4 separate regions of the Homo sapiens genome follow, and regions 1, 3 and 4 are each linked to region 2. The links are contacts of gene promoters, found by promoter capture Hi-C in human tissues and cell types (Jung and others, 2019). All regions are on one chromosome and are shown on one strand. Each heading gives the region's core, a stretch centred on a gene start or on the middle of the fragment in contact. The rest is flanking DNA. Distances are from core to core; before and after follow the strand shown. Region 1 has its middle 55 kb from the start of CYYR1-AS1. Region 2 holds the start of APP (amyloid beta precursor protein). Region 3 has its middle 28 kb from the start of CYYR1-AS1. Region 4 has its middle 9.0 kb from the start of CYYR1-AS1.

The links. Contacts are between HindIII fragments. The study calls those that stand out against the background at their distance.
Region 1: a fragment that was not itself captured here is called in contact with the fragment with the promoter of APP in region 2 in 2 of the 25 tissues and cell types used here (hippocampus and lymphoblastoid cells).
Region 3: a contact is called between a fragment that was not itself captured here and the fragment with the promoter of APP in region 2, in 2 of the 25 tissues and cell types used here (mesenchymal stem cells and mesendoderm cells).
Region 4: a fragment that was not itself captured here is called in contact with the fragment with the promoter of APP in region 2 in 2 of the 25 tissues and cell types used here (dorsolateral prefrontal cortex and heart left ventricle).

The regions. Positions count from the first base shown.
Region 1 is chr21:26,349,403-26,352,654 of GRCh38, forward strand. No RefSeq gene overlaps it. Among named protein-coding and RNA genes, the nearest start is that of CYYR1-AS1, 55 kb to the right of the region's middle. The HindIII fragment of the contact is 5,857 bases long and covers 1-3,252 here.
Region 2 is chr21:26,168,907-26,172,278 of GRCh38, forward strand. APP (amyloid beta precursor protein) reads right to left here and starts at 1,864. Exons shown (of 18, transcript NM_000484.4): 1 at 1,658-1,864. The coding sequence starts at 1,714. APP-DT (APP divergent transcript) reads left to right here and starts at 1,961. Exons shown (of 4, transcript NR_186396.1): 1 at 1,961-2,146. RefSeq lists enhancers at 367-576, 1,075-1,599 and silencers at 617-886, 1,387-2,216. The HindIII fragment of the contact is 4,835 bases long and covers 1-3,372 here.
Region 3 is chr21:26,376,107-26,379,519 of GRCh38, forward strand. No RefSeq gene overlaps it. Among named protein-coding and RNA genes, the nearest start is that of CYYR1-AS1, 28 kb to the right of the region's middle. The HindIII fragment of the contact is 3,594 bases long and covers 1-3,413 here.
Region 4 is chr21:26,395,288-26,398,504 of GRCh38, forward strand. It overlaps a transcript of CYYR1-AS1 not described here. Among named protein-coding and RNA genes, the nearest start is that of CYYR1-AS1, 9.0 kb to the right of the region's middle. The HindIII fragment of the contact is 3,858 bases long and covers 1-3,217 here.

The DNA of each region.
Region 1 (3,252 bases), core at 372-2,871, 180 kb after region 2:
AAATACATAGTTACTGCAGGTATCATCATTTTGGAACTTGACAATATTGTGCACACTGAAGTGATCACAGTTGAACTCACATCTCTTATTTGCGTTTCGGTACCTTTTCACACAACTTTTCGTCTCGTAAAAAGGTGGTCGTTGAAAATTTTGAAGCATGACTTGAAAGCTTTACAAATTATTGTTATGACTTTGAGAAGAAAAAAAAGTGGAAAATATTTTTAAATTAGGAAACCCATGGCTTTAAATTAAAATTTTGGGATTCTCGTCCTTATAGCACTGCTCTTGACTAATCTAAATACCTATAATAATACTGGGTTTAAATGTGAGCCCTTCTCTGGCGCACAGGGGGAATTGATTAGAACGATTAACTAGAGGCATTTTCCTTGGATTTTATTCTTGGCTCCAACATAGATTTTATTGGATCCTCTTCCTAAGCCACCATCCATTGTGTTAGAAACATATATCACTCACTGTAGCTAGGCAGCTGTGAAATGAAGCATGGGATCAACTCTGTTTTTCACTCTGTTGAGGAAAAAAAATCATTTTTAAACCTCTTATTTCACATTCTTATAACTTTTGGGGAAAAACATTCTACCCCCCTTGGAAGTTATAGTTTCTCAGTGTCATTTTCAGACCCGGGTGATCCCCTCTTCTGACACACATATAATTATGTTCTACATTCTGAGGATTTATTGAGTGTATTGCCAACTGGTCTTTAAAATACATTCTTCAAATCCTGCTTTTGCTTGAATAATGTCATCTCTATCTTCAGCATATATTAATAACCGGAATAGTAAAAGAAATTTGCCTAAGAAGTAAGTTATATTTAAAAGCTATTTGATGCTATGTATATGATATTACCTGGTGATATGGTTTGGCTCTGTGTCCCCACCAAAATCTCATCTTGTAGCTCCCATAATTCCCACCTTTTGTGGGAGGAACCTGGTGGGAGATGATTGAATTATGGGGACAGATCTTTCTCATGCTGTTCTCATGATAGTGAATGGGTCTTATGAGATCTGCTTGTTTTAAAAGTGGAGTTGCCCTGCACAAGCTCTTTTATTGCCAACTGCCATCCATGTAAGATGTGACTTGCTCCTCCTTGCCTTCCGCCTTGATTGTGAAGCCTTCCCAGCCATGTGGAACTGTAAGTCCAATAATCCTCTTTCTTTTGTAAATTGCCCAGTCTTAGGTATGTCTTTATCAGCAGTGTGAAAATGGAGTAATACATCTGGCATTTAAAAAAAGTACTATATTTATTGCATATAAGTGAAAATTTATAAAACTAACTATATTAGTAAGGATAGAATAGGTTAGGCTTCTATGAAAAATTAGCCCTGGAATCTGGTTTAAGACATACAATGAAGGTTAAAGACAAAAGCAGATTTATGTAATGATCATATAAATTCTGTTAAGGCTCAGGGAGCTTTTCAGAGTAGCTCCTCTCTCTGTGTGATGACCTCTTTCTCTGTGATGAGAGGTGAGGTCACTTGCTTCTTGTGGTATTTCCATTTCAACACATGGTTTCTACAGTTGCCTGTTATAGAGAAGATAGGTTCTTGAATGTCTCAGCCTGGAGCTGACCTGAATTTCTTCTACTTAGTTTTCACTGCCTAGAACCAGGTTTCTCAACTATGGCTGGGGTGAATAATTTGTTTTGGGGGACTCTCCTTGCACTGCAGGATGCATGCCAGCATCCCTGGTGTCTATACACCAGATACCAGAGGTGTCCCCTCTGGCTGTGATAACCAAAGATATCTCTAGAGGTTGGGGTGAGGGCAGCAGTGAATGGAAAAATTGCTTTTGGTTGAAAACCGCTGAACCAGAGGTAGTCATTTAGTTCTAACTGCAAGGTTGTTGGGAAGAGTGGTCTTCTTGTGTTTACAGGAAGGTGAGGAAAATCAGACATGGATATGCACTAGTAGACTGCAACATATTAGCTAACGGAAATACAGACTTTTCATCATTTCACTATGTATCTAAACATATGAAAAATGTTACTGTGCTTCAATTTTAACATAAAACAAAACAAATAATACTGCATGTCCAAAGTAAATTTAACAACTCTGAGCAATGAACTAAATTTTATTAAATTGTAGAAAGAAACATTTGTAGTAAAAATACATTAAAGGAAACATTTAAAGAAGTTGAAATAATAATTATTGTATTTGACTATAGGAGGCTTAGGAAAAACACTAGCAAATAATTTAAATATGAGCATTAGAAGGAACAAACTAGTGTGACTATGAAAACTTGTTTAGCATCTCTGAACGTATGTTTAATATTGAATATAATTTGTTATTAGCCATTAAAACAACCTCTTCTGGGATAGCCTAGTTCAATGTATACTTGTTTACACATGTTGACCTTGGTAATATGCTTTGTAAATGTGTTGTCAAGTTGTATTTATTAGTCATGGACTAAAGAATATCTATTAGTCACAGGATAATTAGAATGCTTTCAGTTATAAGGCTAGAAACCTAGTGGAACCTTCTTCTGGCAGACACACAGAGAGAGAGAGAGAGAGAGTGAGAGAAAGACAGAGAGAAAGGAATTTTTCAGAAAGAGTTTTTGTTTTACAATAACAAAGCTTTGTTTATTGTTCATGTTACATTTTGGCTTTAGCTCTCCTCCACATATCTTCTCATTCTGGGGCACAGTTTGAAGGAGCAGCCCCTATCTCAGACTTGTGGAAGAGGAAAAAAATAATCATAGAACAAGCTGATGGATCTTATGGTCTCTACTTGGGCGTATCATATATTCCTTCTGCCCATATTCTATCAATTAAAGCAAACCATATGGCCACGCATGCTGTCTGTCAAAGGGTGAGAGAAGTATCTCCTTCCACAGGGAGGTGCTGCCAGTGACATGACCATAGGAGGGATATAGGTCCTCTTACAGAGAGGACAAGAGATAATTGTGAACAATAATATCATCCATTACAGATGTTGAGATGGCTCACTGAAGATAGGGACAGAACTAGAACTGGGCACAATTGCAGTCGTCTCTGCTTCTCTTTGTTTTAGCCACATTCTTTCCAGCTATGAACAGGAAGTCAACAGCAGTCCTAGATTTATACTTCCCCAATTAGCAAAATAAATAAATAAATAAAATTAAACTAAAATGAAATGACTTCTCTTTGCTTTACAATAACATGACTGACTGGCCATTCCCATGTGTCTAAAAGTAGGGTCGCTAAAAGTAGAGCAATGAGATTTCATCTGGTCCATAGTCATCTGGTCCATAGTC
Region 2 (3,372 bases), core at 614-3,113:
TAATGGTGTGATAGTCTGTACAGCCTCAGTGGAATTACAGGAAAACATCTGCCCGGAAATTGCTTTTTTTCTTTTGGAAAATTACTAGGAGGCTGGGGGAAAAGAGGGGAAAAACGGGTAAGGAAGGTTGCAAATGTTAAGATGCCAAACAGGAACCCAACCGAAGTCCGAAGTGAAATACAGCCTCCTCTGGCCCAACTGTCATGCAAACAACTTCTAAGCATCTTCAGATGTAAAGAAAAACAGTCATTGTGCACAGGCGTTAGCTGAATGTTCGAGAGTTGGATGAATGGGGAAGACTTGTTATACACCTAGTGGTGGGTGGATTTCACTAGGCTGCAGCCTCCACACAGCTTTTCTTTGCTGCACTGCAGAGGCGCCATCTTCTCCGTCTTAATCTTCACTCAATTCGATCCTTTTATCTGCACCCTAAAAAAAAGACCCTTCGGACCCTCCCCAGCATCCTGTGCCCCCAGGGGAACTAAACCAGAGTCCCCAGAGCTGCCAGGGAAGAGGCCGCGCCTTAATCAGACAAACGCCTCCTTGGATGCACAGGACAGAGCCCGTGCCTCCCCACCATCCGCCACTGCCCTTTCCAGACGCACATCCCACTCTCCGCCTTATTTCCTCCCCGCCAAGGACTTTACAGCCCAGCACAGAATTAAGCCTCGGAGGTGATCCGAGGGTGGGAAGCAGAGGGGCCCCGAGGCTCCGCCAGAAGCCCCGGCAGCGTCTCTGCCCCCTCCCAGGCGGACGCGCAGCCCCGGGAAGGGAGCCGGGCGGGAGCCTCGGTGGCGCACTGAGACTAACGCGGCTCGGCCCACGGCGAGGGCGGGGTGTCGCGGCTTTTGTTCCCGCGGACCTTCTGCCTCTCAGACAGAGCTTAGGGTGCGAGCGAACTCCCGGGACGTCCAGACTTGGGGAAGGCGCGGGGTGGCTATGGGTCTCCGACCCCTCCCATTTCTCGCAAGTTACACAAAAGGGAGACGCGGACATGCACAAAGTTTGCCTGTGGAAGGCGGTGCGCGACCCCGACGCCGGCTCGGGCTAGGGTCGCACCCAGGCTGCCGCCGCCAGCAGCCGCGAAAAGAGGTTGGAGCAAGGAAGGGGGATGGGGGTGAGAGAGGAAGGTGAAACGAGGCGGAGAACGCAGGGAAAAGCGAGGGGCTCCTAGCTTCCTGGGCTGTCCCGACTCCTCCTCCTCCTCCCCAGGGCCCAAGAGAAAGGAAAGGGCAACGATTCAAGAGCGAAGGACTGGCTTTAGGGACGCTGCGTTTTCGGTTTTCCCCACGTGCTCCTTCCCCCTTCCCCCCTGTCTGAATGTCTCTCGCCTCCCCCGACCCCCGCTTCCAAGGCAGGGACTAAGTCGGGGTCTGGGCTCAGGGTCGCCCCCTACCCTTCTCGCCCCGGGCTGGCGCGGAACCAGGGAGACCAGCGCCTCGCCCGCTCCCTCTCAGCGGGCCGGAGCGCGACTCCCTGGGGCAGGGCTGGGCCGAAAGCGGGGATGCGCTGGACGTCCGCAAGCGGGGGCGGAGAGGAGAGGGGTCCCATTGACGGACCCCCGGCTTCTCTGCATTAAAGACTTGGGTTAAGGTCTTGGGGGGTATCGCGTCCCCACCGTGCAGCCTCCCCCCGCCTTCCGAGGCGCGGCACCCACCTCCAGCGCCCGAGCCGTCCAGGCGGCCAGCAGGAGCAGTGCCAAACCGGGCAGCATCGCGACCCTGCGCGGGGCACCGAGTGCGCTGCTGTGCGAGTGGGATCCGCCGCGTCCTTGCTCTGCCCGCGCCGCCACCGCCGCCGTCTCCCGGGGCCCCCGCGCACGCTCCTCCGCGTGCTCTCGCCTACCGCTGCCGAGGAAACTGACGGAGCCCGAGCGCGGCGGCGGGGCTCAGAGCCAGGCGAGTCAGCTGATCCGGCCCACCCCGCTCGGCACCCGAGAGAGACCCCTAGCGGCGCCGCCGGGGAACTGCGCCCGCTCGCGCCGGGAGGGGCCCTCGCGCCCCGCGCCCACAGGTGCACGCGCCCTTGGCGCCGCCTGCACCCCACGCGCCCCCTCCGCTCCCCGGCCGACGGCCCACCTGGGCTTCGTGAACAGTGGGAGGGAGAGTCTGGGGCCAGGAGAGGGACGGTGCAGGATCAGGGAAAGGTGAGTCCTAGGACGCTGAGGCTCTAGAAAAGTCGAGAGCGCTCCTGCTCGTCCCCGTGAGCTTGAATCATCCGACCCCGCAGGCCTCCCGGGGGTGTCGTATAAAGGACTGCTGCTAGGGTGCGTTTTTATCCGCATTTCGTTTTTTCTCTCGGTTTGGAGAGGTGGGGCAGGCGTTTCTGGAAGAGAATGAGAACGAGTGAAGCTTAAAGGAAATAGGATTTTCTTTGCTTGTTGAGACAGCAAAACCTCATTTTTTAACCCCCAACGTCAAAAGCAGGCACGAGCAACCTGGAATTTCTATCTTTAGAACGAACCAAAGGAGCAAGGCGCAGGACCTGGCAAAGAAGCGGCCAACCCATTTACTTCTTCTTGAAAGCAGGGTTCTGGGCTTGGGTTTTGTTTCTTTCTTATATTTTTGTTTGTTTTTGGTTTTGTTTTGTTAAAGGGGGTGGTCAGTGTGGATTTTGCGGGGCGGGGGGTCTTTTTTTGTTGTTAAGCAGGGATGTAACATCCATCTGAGTTGGGGAAGAAGGAAAAATTAGGAGAGATCATTCGTATTCGACCCCCGTAAATGAGGACTTCTGACCTCAAACGCTGCCCTTGTTCTTCATTGTGTCTGTCCTGAATTATAGAAATGAACCTTCTGCCATGCCACTTTCTCCTGGATTAAACACAAACCGTCCACTGTCCAGTTAGTGTCCAGATAGTTTAGAATGCTCTAGAACTGCCCAGATATATCCCCTGCTCTTGACCTGAAGTAGCATTTAGTTACCAAGCCACAGCCCACTCCACACAGGGCTTGGAGCGAAGGACTGAAGCCAGGGAGTGCTCTGGCCCTTCTGAGGGCTGCACTGCAGCCTGCCTTCTCTCCCTTGCTCATTGCGCTGACAAGGGTGCCTAGGCCCGGGAAGGATGGCTCAGCCAGCGGGGTACAGACTTCCTTCCTGGGAAGTCATTTCTGTACCAGCTCCCCTAAATGTTGTCTTGTGTGTCTTTTCCCGCACTAGGCATTCAGTCTTGACTCTTGGATTACTTTTGCCCCTGAATGTCCTTTGGATGTCCTCAACAAATAAGGACAAATATTTATTGTCATGCAGTATTTGTTTATACGCTTCATGTCATTTACTTCCTACAAAAGCCAAAGAGGCTGTTACTATTATTCCTATTTATACATCAGGAAAATGAAGCTAATGAACTCCCAAATCTAATAGCAAGTAAGTGAC
Region 3 (3,413 bases), core at 479-2,978, 210 kb after region 2:
TTTATTCAACAAACATTCATTTTGGAAGGTTCAATGGCATGTAGGTCTCAATGGAGTCAAACATTTCTGGATGTAAATAACTAGAGAAGGGGGTTGGTAATGATGGGAGATGGTGATTGGAAGAAAAGTGATTGTTGAAGTGAGATTGTGAGTGGAGTGTTGTTATTGGCAATCACAAGACCTAGGGCAGTGCCTTCTAGTATTTTTTTTTCTATTGTGGTGCATATAGAAAGTGAAAATATTTATATAGCATATCTGGCTGGGGGCTTTAGGTGCTCCCATCCTGCTCAGCATCTGTGAGGGGCCAAAGAGCTCAACACCTCATGGACATGAGTTGGAGAGTTTGCTTGGTGCTATGACCATGGGAGTGGATGGCTGGGCCAGAATGATGAACCAGGAACTGAGAGGCCAAGGTGTTGGAAAGCTTACACACATAGAAATCAATCACCAAGGATTAATGACAGAGGTCATGTAGGAGACAGCAACAGGACTCAATCAAAAAATAAGATCTTCAAAGAGGGCTGCAGACAACAGCAACAAGGAAGGATTGCTGTCTGATTGTATTAGTCTGCTGGGGCTGCCTTAACAAATACCACAGGCTAGGTGGCTTAAACAACAGACATTTATTTTCTCACAGTTCTGGAGTCTAGAAGTCCAAGATCTAGGTGTTGGCAGGGTTGGTTCCTTCTGGGACCTTTCTCCTTGACTTGTAGATGGCTGTCTTCTCCCCTTTTCTTCCCAGGATCTTTCCTCTGTGTATGTTTGTGTCCTAATCTCCTCTTCTTATAAGGACATGAGTAATATTGGAGTAAGGCCCACTCTAATCATCTCATTTAACCTTAACCACCTCTTTAAATATCCCATATCCAAATCACATTCTATGGTACTGGGAGTTAGGACTTCAGCATATGAATTTGAGGGTGGGGGACATGATTCAGTTTATAACAGCAATGATATGAGCCTTAAGGTTGGGGAGGGTATAGGGAAGAGGGAGGGAGAATTCTCTGAAAGGGGCAATAAAGAGCAACAAGGCCACCTACTCCACCTCCAGACCTAGGAGGGAAAATAGCCATCGCTAAAGAGGGAAGCAAAGAAAACCATATCCTCGGGGGAACAAAAAGGTGAAGGGAAGATTAGGAGAAGAGGGTGACATTCTAGGGGATTTTATGCCTGGGAATATGGTGACACATCTCACACTTTTCTGACTCATCCATGTTGCATGTAGACACAAAATACACCTAGGAAATGGAATGTCTTATATGTGCTTGTGAAAAGTCTTCTTCTGCTCCTCCACCCAGGCTCATTCAGGGAGTCTCTTCCTTCCCAGGGCCCCTGAGAGTTACACTTTGCACCATCTCAATGGTGCAGTTCTCTATAAATATGCTGATATCTGCACTTTCTGAAGCTTTCAAGGTGTAAAAATAGTGTTGTTTCCTCCTTTTGTGCACAATGAGCCTGAATCACACTGGGCTTCTTAAAGAAATGGGGGTAGACCCCTCCTCTGCTTGGAAATGTGCTTTGTCCCCTGGACCTTAGTCTCAGGGGCCCCTTGTGAAAACAGTGCCTTCCTCCATCTTTGGCCTGTTGCAGCTCCATTCATTTCTTGCAGGAGTGGTCTCTGCACCCAGGCTGGATAACAGACACGGTATAGTCCTCCTCAGTGGTTCTCTTTTTCTCCAGGTCATTATCTCTGTCTCTTAGGTGAACATGAAGCCTTTAGGGCAAATTAAATCATAAAGACTGAGATATCTTGGGCCTACAACCAGTTCATCAAGCATATATAGTGCTTGATCCCTAACAGCAGATCCAGCTTGCTCCTCTGCTTGGTCTCTGTTCCCCTGCTACCCTCTTTCCACCACTCAGGTCTCAGTCAAACACTACCCCTTCTCCAAAAGACCTTTCCTGACCACTTTGCTGAAAGAAGTACCCCACTTCCCCTCCACAGTCATTCTCTATCACAGGAACCCACTTTATTATCTCCCTGTGACAGTCGTTCTCTGGAATTATTTTGCATTTTTCTTGCTCACGTTCCATGACCCTCGCCCCATTAGGATAGCTCTTGTGTCTGGTTCATCAGTGCCTAGAACAGTGCTTATCACATGTTATTTGTTCAACAAATATTTATCAGATGAATAAATTGATGGTTCATTCATCGGAAAGCAGTGAGCAGCACTGGCATGGCCTTTGGTTTTATCATCCAATTTTTTAGTGAAAAAATGGTTTTTAATCTGATCTATTTTGAGCCCATTTTAGTTTCATTGAAAGCCAATTTGCATTTGAACACTTGATCTTGCTAGAGTGAAGCATACTCTAAGATTGACCTGATTTACTCATAATACACAAAAATCAGTAAGTCCTGAGACTTTGTATTATTTCTGTTTCATCCGTGGCATTCATTCTGCTTTCTAACTAACTTATCATAAGTATCTTTTGGTTGTCTGCCAGTCAGTAGGCCAGGGGATCTGGAAATATTCTTCGGGTTGCCATTCTTGATGTTCCAGCACCCAGAGGCAAATGGACACTGATGTGCTTGACAAGAGCCTCCTTTTGTAACCCTATCAGTAATTGCCCTTCCTATGTGACCCAACGGGGGTTTAGGTAGGATGTGGGCTGCAGCGCTAACTCTGATATCTCCTTGGTGGGTTGGGGAGCCTACCATTGCCACTTCATTCTAATTCATGCCCCTGGTTTTTCCATACAAGCCTAACTCAGAGATACTGCAAATTCATTTCCAGCCCACCACAATAAAGCGGGTGTTGCAATGAAGCAAGTCGTGGAAATTTTTTGGTCTCCCAATGCAAATAAAAGTTGTGTTTACACTATGCTATTGTCTATTAAGTGTGCAATAGCATTATGTCTAAAAAATATGCATACTCAGCTGGGCATGGTGGCTCATGCCTGTAATCCCAGCACTTTGGGAGGCCAAGGTGGGTGGATCACCTAAGGTCAGGAGTTTGAGACTAGCCTCGCCAACATGGCGAAACCCCATCTCTACTAAAAATGCAAAAAAAAATTAGCTGAGCATGGTGGTGTGCACCTGTAATTTACCCCAGGTACTTGGAAGGCTGAAGCAGGAGAATCACTTGAACCTGGGAGTAAAGGTTGCAGTAAGCCAAGATTGTACTACTGCACTCCAGCCTGGGTGACAGAGTGAGACTCTGTCTCAAAAAAAAAAAAAAAAAAAAAGCATACCTCAATTAAAAAATACTTTATTGGTAAACAGTGCTAACAATTATCTGGGCCTTCAGTGAGTTGGAATTTTTTTTTGCTCAAAGAGGGTCGAATCTTGCTGCTGAGAGCTTTCAACTGGATTAGGCTTTGATTTATGGGACTGTTGTGGTGGTTTGAGCTTCTATCCATACCACTCAGACTTTCTACATATCAATAATATGCTACTTCACTTTTTTTTAATC
Region 4 (3,217 bases), core at 195-2,694, 230 kb after region 2:
TATTCCCTAAGTGTAACCAAGTGAGCCAAGCAAATGGTCATCCCTCTCACTTCACCTGGAGGTAAATTTGTGCCTGAGGCCGATTACCGCTTCCTGTTCCCCATCATGATGTCAAAATGCAAATGGCAGGTATGATGAAGATGAGCATATGATAGAAATAAGACTGTATTTCACAAAAATATAATCAAATCTTTATATTTCAAAATAAGCTTACAGATCTCCACCTAATATGACTTCAAGTAAATTTACATTATGTGGACCTACCATTTCCTAAGTATTTGCTATACTGCTCCATGGCTCTGTCAAATGTCTCTTCAGACTCTTAGATGGGATTATTGCCATCTACAAATAACTTCTGCTTTTTTAAAAAAGTCATTCAACAAACTTTATGAAACCACCAGGAACTGGATCAGGTGGTGGGGATTAAGGATGAAGGCCACGCTCTCTGCTTATCTTAAACTCAATAGCTTTCCTTGATTATATCAACATTTTTTCAACTCCTTTCATTTAAAGAATACATTTTTTTTGAAAAAGCATTTAGTTATGATTCAGAAATATAGCAATATAGTGAGATAAAGCTTATATATGTGTATATATATGTGTATATATATGTATATATATATACATATGTGTATATATATATATACGTGTGTGTGTGTATATATATATATATATATATATATATATATATTTTTTTTTTTTTTTTTTTTTTTTTTTTTTTTTTGAGACAGAGTCTCACTCTGTCTCCCGGGCTGGACTGCAACGGCACGATCTGGGCTCACTGCAAACTCCACCTCCTGGGTTCAAGCGATTCCCCTGCCTCAGCCTCCTGAATAGTTGGGATTAGAAGTGCGTGCCATCACAGCCAGCTAATTTTTGTATTTTTCCTGGAGATGGGGTTTCACCATATTGGCCAGGATGGTCTCAGTCTCTTGACCTCGTGATCCACCTGCCTTGGTCTCCCAAACTGCTGGGATTACAGGCGTGAGCCACTGCACCTGGCCACTTATAGATATTTTTTAGGAGGTACCCTAAGCCAGACTTTTGCCCTGAAGACTTTTCTACTCTGCAGTGTTTATTTTTCTGTTTCAAGATGTCTGCAGCAGAAAGAATAATGCAAAATTTCAACATCAGTGTTATTCTAAAAACAATCATATGAAAAATTCAGGTTCCTTCAATAACGACTACCTTGAAAAATAAAAAATTCAGTCACGCAGTTGGTTTTTTTAGTCTTGAGAATATCAAACTGTGTGTGACTGACTTTCACTAAATTGACTAGTCACTGTTGAATGACATGCCCCTTAGCTAGGACAGCCTGGAAAATTGTTTTCAAAGCTTTTGGGACTCTTTCACTCCAATTTTTAGCACAGATTCAAGAATATCTACTTAGCTACCAGGCATCTTCTAGGGTATAGACATTTCTGTACAAAGGACTGATCACCCTCTTCACTGAGCCCTCTCCAGAGTGGGACTTCAGTTGCTTAGTGTAAGAAAACTAGTCTTTTAAGTCACTTTTCATTTCCTTATAATTCATGGGTTTTCTCACTTCAGTCCCTGTCAGAGGTCAGAATGTTTTCCCTCCATTCTTCAGCATCTTCATTTGCCTACAATTATTGTTCAAAGGTAAGTTGGAAGCTGTCCATAGGAAGAAATGTATGATGTAGTACATGACACAATAGTCATGTACCTTATGTGGTTACTGTAGCTTGCAGAGCATCAGTCTTAGTAGGTGATCAGTAACTGGTTGTGGAATAAATAAAGCAATGATTGAATGACAATATAACTGAAGAATCAATGGGCAATGCATATAGGAGTTACTAAGTGTATTCGTCCATTCTCACATTGCTATACAGATACTACCTGACACTGGGTAATTTTTAAACAAAAGAAGTTTAATTGACTCCCAGTTCCACATGGCTGAGGAGGCTTCAGGAAACTTGCAATTACGGAGGAAGGTGAAGGGAAGCAAGGCACATCTTCACAAGGTGGCAGGAGAGAGAAAGAAGGGAAAGTGCCACACTTTAAAACCATCAGATCTCCTGCGAACTCCTTCACTATTATGAGAACAGCATGGAGAAACTGTCCCCATGATCCAATCACCTCCCACTAAGTCCTTCCCACAATACGTGGGGATTACAGTTCGAGATGAGATTTGGGTGGGGATACAGAGCCAAACCATATCACTAAGTAATCCGATACCATAAGAATTACTTAAATATTTTTTACCACATTACGTTTTTTTCAAGTAAGAAATGTTTTCAATTCTGATGTTAGCCAACTTAGGGTGTCTTATTGTTTTCCCCAGTGACCAAGCAGAAAACAAAATGCTCAAAAAGGATCAGAGAAGAGAGTTCAACAAAGGGATTGTTTACAATCATGTGGGTGGGGTTAAGTGCAGTATTACATCAAAGAATAGTGCAGTACTTTGGAGTCAGCAAAAGCTGGAGTGCTGAGGGGCAGGGGGAGGAAGCAGTTAGTGACTGGAACATAGAGTGGCTGCATTAAGAGGGCCATCCAATAAGAAGAGTGTCCTTGGGTGGAAGGCCAGAGCCAGCTTGTGATGACTTGCCAGGAAGGTTGCTGTTGGAATAAAAGTGCTTACATCATTCTGCACTAAACTTTCAATTTCCTGGCAAGTATCTTCCATTGGCCAAACTGAAAGCTGGAGGGCAAGGAAGCTTGTTGGTGCAGTCCCTAGAAGTTGAAGTCTTGGATTTCAAAGGAGGATAGCGAAGGTTGGAAAGCGAATCTGGCGTGGGGGGTGGGGCAAACCCCAAATATCCAGGTGCCTTCTCTATTTATTAGCTGAGGTGGTTAATTGGTGGTCTTCCAAGTATTGACAGTTTCCTTCCAATCTTTATTTGTGCAGGATAATATCTCTTTCAGAGGTAGGGAAAACATGATGGAAAGCATAAATTTCAACCATGAAATTCCATGCCCCCTCCCTCACAGAAGGTATTGTGACAGAAAAGAAATGTAGAACTTCAATTCACTTTATAAGTACCGCGTGCTAACCAATTGTGCCACTGGAGCCACAGCACTCAATTTATTTTAGATTCCTAGTTAGCATAATTTGTAGAAAATCAAAGCTAGACAGTAGTGATGTCTCTCAAATTTGTTTGACAAGAGGTCTAAAAATTGTCCATATGTGTATTAGGCTGCTCTTGCATTGCTAGAACAGCACGTATGAATATCCCACACATGGATATCCCAAGTT